2 separate regions of the Homo sapiens genome follow, and region 1 is linked to region 2. The links are contacts of gene promoters, found by promoter capture Hi-C in human tissues and cell types (Jung and others, 2019). All regions are on one chromosome and are shown on one strand. Each heading gives the region's core, a stretch centred on a gene start or on the middle of the fragment in contact. The rest is flanking DNA. Distances are from core to core; before and after follow the strand shown. Region 1 has its middle 14 kb from the start of LINC00303. Region 2 holds the start of SOX13 (SRY-box transcription factor 13).

What was found. The method cuts DNA at HindIII sites, captures the fragments that hold promoters and counts their contacts. A contact is called where the count stands out against the background at its distance.
Region 1: a fragment that was not itself captured here is called in contact with the fragment with the promoter of SOX13 in region 2 in 1 of the 25 tissues and cell types used here (psoas muscle).

Annotation. Positions count from the first base shown.
Region 1 is chr1:204,026,045-204,028,744 of GRCh38, reverse strand. No RefSeq gene overlaps it. Among named protein-coding and RNA genes, the nearest start is that of LINC00303, 14 kb to the left of the region's middle. RefSeq lists an enhancer at 1,745-2,294. The HindIII fragment of the contact is 5,174 bases long and covers 1-2,700 here.
Region 2 is chr1:204,071,678-204,074,377 of GRCh38, reverse strand. It overlaps SOX13 (SRY-box transcription factor 13), which reads right to left and starts at 1,263. Exons shown (of 14, transcript NM_005686.3): 1 at 667-1,263. RefSeq lists an enhancer at 1-584. The HindIII fragment of the contact is 26,498 bases long and covers 1-2,700 here.

The DNA of each region.
Region 1 (2,700 bases), core at 19-2,518, 46 kb after region 2:
ACCTCTGGCCAGGAGCGGTGGCTCAGGCCAGGTGCGGTGATTCACGCCTATAATCCCAGCACTTTGGGAGGCTGAGGCGGGTGGATCACCTGAGGTCAGGAGTTCAAGGCCAGCCTGACCAACATGGATAAACCTTGTCTCCACTAAAAACACAAAAATTAGCTGGGCATGGTGGCACATACCTGTAATCCCAGCTACTCAGGAGGCTGAGGCAGGAGAATCGCTTGAACCTGGGAGGCGGACATTGCGGTGAGCTGAGATTGCGCCGTCACACTCCAGCCTGGGCAACAAGAGCGAAACTCTGTCTCAAAATAAATAAATAAATAAATATAATAAAGGACACCTCTGCCAAGCTGGGAAGAATATTATGCCTTGCTATCCTGCTGGCAGCTTCCTCTCTGTGCCCCATCTAGCAATGGCTAGAACTGGGCCAAATCCTCACTCGTTGCTCTGTGATTTACAGGCACAACACCCTCTACCTCCCTATGGAAAAGAAGCTGCTATCACCAGGGGAAAGATTAACTGGTACATGTTGTTGCATCCTCACCATAGAGCACTCCTGAGCTCTTAAGAGGCTGACGTGGGCCTCTTAAGGCCCACCCATATGTGGGCCAGGAAAGGCTATCTATGCTGGGTCATTGAGGCCCAGGGTCTGGTCTTCCAGAACAAAGAAATATTTGCCCAGAATTAAATCCCCATCACCTGTAACAGCTTCCTGCTTTGAGACCAAGGCTTCAAAAGTCCCAGGAGCAATGCTTGGTCAAGGCTTGAGATTAAATGTTGAGGGGCTCCCCACCACACAGAAATCTCCCTAAGGAAGGAAACGTTCCCAAGTACAGAGCAATCTGGCTCCCAGGGAGGTCAGGGGACAAATTACCACTGTCTGCTTCTCCAAACCCCAGGAGTTTTTCGCCAGTCACAAAAAAACAGCACAATAACAGTAAAAGCGAGAAGATAAGATGAGATGAAAGAATGTCATATAAAATCATAAAGAACAAAATAGAGATAAGGAATGATCAAGATAAGTAAAACAGAACTAGAGGACTCAAAGATGAAAAGGAGAAAAGAGATAAATAAGCTTTTAAAATTATACAAAAAAATACAATCAACAATTTATGAGATTAGAAGCTGAGGTTATAAAAACAAAGGTTTACAATGTTCAAATAGCCCCAGGCAATGGAACCTGAGCGGCCAGCAGCCTGCAGGGGTCTTCCTGGTCTCCCACACAAAGGCAGAGTTTGAAACCCCCTTTAACCAACTCCAGAGCCCTTCTAGGCAACATCTCACTGCTTAAACACCTTGGGGCCATTATTTCTGACTTCTGATTTTTGCTGATGTCCATGAGGTACTATCCAATTCATCTTCTGCCTGTATTTCCAAAGCAAATGTTATTGGGAACTAGTAAAATACAGGTCCACAATTCCTAACTCTCAATTCAGAAATCCAAAAAGCCATGAAAACCAAAACTCTGTCATCTCTTACTTGATGGCATAACCTGATCTAGCCTGAACTTATTTGGCAGCAAAACCTGACCTGAACTGAGGTGAAGCTATTTATAGGGTGAATCTTCATTCATTTCCTTGCAGAAATATTAATGTGCTTGATTTGAGGGAACTGCCACAGAGCTTGCTCTGGGAGTTGTGTAATACAGGGTATGTGCATCTTACCTTACTAAAATTCTGAAACACATCTAGCCCTAAGGTTTCAGATAAGAGATCGTGGACCTGAATTAAAATCCTCCACCAGATAGAAGAATAGGAAAACAAATGGTAGCATATTCACACAATGGAATACTACACAGCAATCACAATGACCTAGCTGCACTACACTCTACATAATGTCCAGAAAAGAAGCCAGACACAAAATTCACACGTGTTGGAAGGCTCAAGACTACCTTGTATTTGTTTTGTTCATTTCTTAAATTCCACTGCTATAGAGTTCAAAAACAAGAAACCTAATCAGGTAGGATTTCTTTCATTTAATCTTTCAGTAAATATAGGCCAGTACCCCGATTACCTCTTCCCACCAGAGCCTAAGCTGACCACTCTGGAGAATGTACTGCTAAGCCCCACGCTGACAGCCCTGTCGCCAATGCAGGACCAGTTTGTTCCCTCTCCACCTTCCTCCCTCTGCCTTTGTCTCCAGCTCCTCTTTGTTTTGCCCCGGTGGAGTGGCTCACGGGATGGTGGCGATCTTGTCTTTTCATGCTTTTGTCCTCACTCCATCCGGGGTCCCTGTCCACCCTCTTCCCTGGCCATTCACATAGGCGTTTTATCTTTCTTCATTCCCTCTCCTCCTTGGCTGATGGGCTGCCCGATCCCCACGCGGCCCAGTCTCTTCCTGTCCTTATGTCTCTACCGTCTGATGCTTGGGATCCGCTGGTTTTAGGCTTTTGTTTGGGCCGCAGGGCGTTCTCTCTGCCTCTGCCTCTCACTCCCACCACCCTCCCTTCCTTCCCCCTCATCTCGATGTCCTTTGTGGGACATTCACTTTTATCTCCCTTTGATTTTCTCTCTCCTCTTTGTAGAGGGAGAATGAAAGGCTCAGCTAATTGTAGCAGTGGGGCAGTGACGCCTGGCTCCCCTTCCCAGCACCTTCCCCACCAGGGCTGAGCAGAAAGGGAAATGAGGGCAATTCAGACTCCCACCGCCCTAAGCCTGCTCCAGATCTCTCTCCCCATGGACTTTCCACCCCCAGTTT
Region 2 (2,700 bases), core at 14-2,513:
AGGGCGGGAGGTGGGGGTAGCAAGAAGCAGCCTGCGGTGGGGGTGGGGGTGGGACAGGAGCAGCCGGAGCAGAAAACAAACAGGATGCCGCGCTGGTCTGGTCCGCTGGGGAACGACCCTGAAACCGTGGCAAGGGGAGCGCGTCTGTCCCCCAGCACCCCACGCAACCATGGTGGAGGAGCTCTGCGCCTCGTCGCAGGCACCTGAGCCCCACGCAGGACGCGCGCAGGTCGCTTCGGCTTCCCGCTGAGAAATCCTTAAACTAGGCGCATAGTCGGGCTGATGAGAAAGACCTAGTCCTCTGCGGTCGGCGAGGAGCGGGTTGGGGGTGCACCCTAAGCTCGACCCGCGTGGTGAACGCGCGCGCGCGCGCGCGTACACACACACACACACACACACACAAACACACACACAGCCACGCACTGCCTTAGAGGCTGCCATCCCTCTCCACAAGGACCCAAGTCGGCCAGGGAGGAGCCGCCACTGCCCAGCGTTGTTGGGGGTAGGTGAGGGTCCGTCTCTCCTCGAAAAACTTTGCACAGGGTGGAAACTCGCAGGGAAGAGAGCCGGTGGGTGCCCAGAAACGTAGGGGCGCAAGTGTCAAACTTCAGAGAGCTGGGGAAATGGGCGCGACGGCGCGATCATGGCGGGGAGGGGTGCACTTACTACTCAGCCAGGCGCCGGGCTCGGGGCTCGGGGCTCGCGGCTCCGCGCTCCTGCTCCTCCTCCGTGCGGTCCTCGCGGCTGGCAGCCTAGGCTTCCCGCTCACATGCCCCCGCGACGCGGCGGGCGGGCCGGGTTGGGGAGGCTGGGCTGGGAGGGGGCACGCCCCCCGCCGTCGGCCGGGGAGTCGCTGCGGACCCACGGCCACCCTGGGTCCGCGCCCCACGGGGCCCGCCGTCCCGGGCGGCGAGCTTGGTTCCGGCCGGGCGGCGCCCTCTCCGCCGAGCCAGGCCGCTCTCTGCCCTCTGCCCTCTGCCCTGGGCTTGCGGCCGTCTCCCTGCCTTCCGCGGTCCTGCTCTGCGACTCGTCGGACGCGCAGCCGGCCCGCCCTCCCTGCTCTTCGGCTCTCACGCTCTCCGGCTCCAACCTCAGCGCCTCGGCTCGATTCCGAGTCAGGGCCTACGAGGCTGACCGCTGAGCTCTGGGCTCAGACCTGGGCTCGCCGGTTCTGGGCCCGGGTTCCAGGACCCGTGCTCACACAGTTCAGTTCCAAGCCGGGACTGGAGAAGGGCGCTCGCGGCTCGCTGCTGCGAGGCGACTGGACAGCCTAGAGGAGAAAGAGGGAGGGAGACCGAGAGCGCGCAGGGGGAGGAGGGAGGGAGGGTGGGGACTTGCAGAAGAAGGGAGGGACAGAGAGTTTCCTCCTCCTCCCTGCAGCCGGGTCCATCCAGGCATCAACAGCTGGAAACCTCTGTTGGAAAGGGGAAAGCTAAGGTTTACGGGCGGCGGGGAAGGGTGGGGGTGGAGTGAGGGGGTGTAGAGAAGAGAAGAAAGAAGGATTCTGCCCGCTCCCACTGCCCAGGTATGAGGGTCGCTACAGAGAATCTTCACTCCTTAAAGCAAGACCTAAGAAGTTATTGGTCCAGCTCCAAGCCTCCCAACCCCTCCAAACAGATAGCCTGGACTCGGGTTTTTTAAAAACCCCATTTCTCCGGACTTCCCTTAAGAACCTGATCTCTGCCGGGCGCGGTGGCTCACGCCTGTAATCCCAGCACTTTGGGAGGCCGACGGGGGCGGATCACGAGGTCAGGAGATGGAGACAATCCTGGCTAACACGGTGAAACCCCGTCTCTACTAAAAATACAAAAAATTAGCCGGGCGTGGTGGCGCGCCTGTAACCCCCTACTCGGGAGGCTGAGGCAGGAGAATCGCTTGAACCCGGGAGTGGGAGGTTGCAGTGGGCCGAGATCGCGCCATTGCACTCACTCCTGCCTGGGCGACAGGGCGAGACTCCGTCTCAAAAAAAACAAAACCTGATCTCACCTGTAGCTAGACGGATTCCTGATATCTCCAACCACTCCCTAATCCTGTCATTTGCAGCCTCTCAAATAAATCTTATTTTCTCCTGTCCCATTATATGGGAGGGTGGGGGAGAATGGAGAGTTGGTTTCCTTTCATTCAACGTATTTATCAAATGTCTACATATGACCGGGCGCAGTGGCTCACGCCTGTAATCCCAGCACTTTGGGAGGCCAAGGCAGCAGATCACCTGAGGTTGGGAGTTCGAGACCAGCCTGGCCAACATGGTGAAAACCCCTCTCTACTAAAAATACAAAAATTAGCCGGGTGTGGTGGTGCATGCCTGTAATTCCAACTACTCAAGAGGCTGAGGCAGAAGAATTGCTTGAACCCAGGAGGCAGAGGTTGCAGTGAGTGGAGATCGCACCACTGCACTCTAGCCTGGGTGACAGAGTAAGACTCTGTCTCAAAAAAAAAAAAAAAAAAAAGTCTACCTATGCCTGGCTTACCGGGGTGCTGGGGACACGAAGACAAATGAGACGGTGTCCTGCCCTTTCTGGATTCTGATTTTGTAAAGGAATGGGTGAATATACCATTGCAGTGAAGTGGAGAGGGCTAAGATAGGGCAGGCAAATGGGCACAGGGCCACCAAAGACACTGGGATATGGGGACTGGAACTTCTTGGGGGAGGTGGCATCTGAAATGGGTCTTGGAAGGACCTGTGGGTGTAGGGCAGAT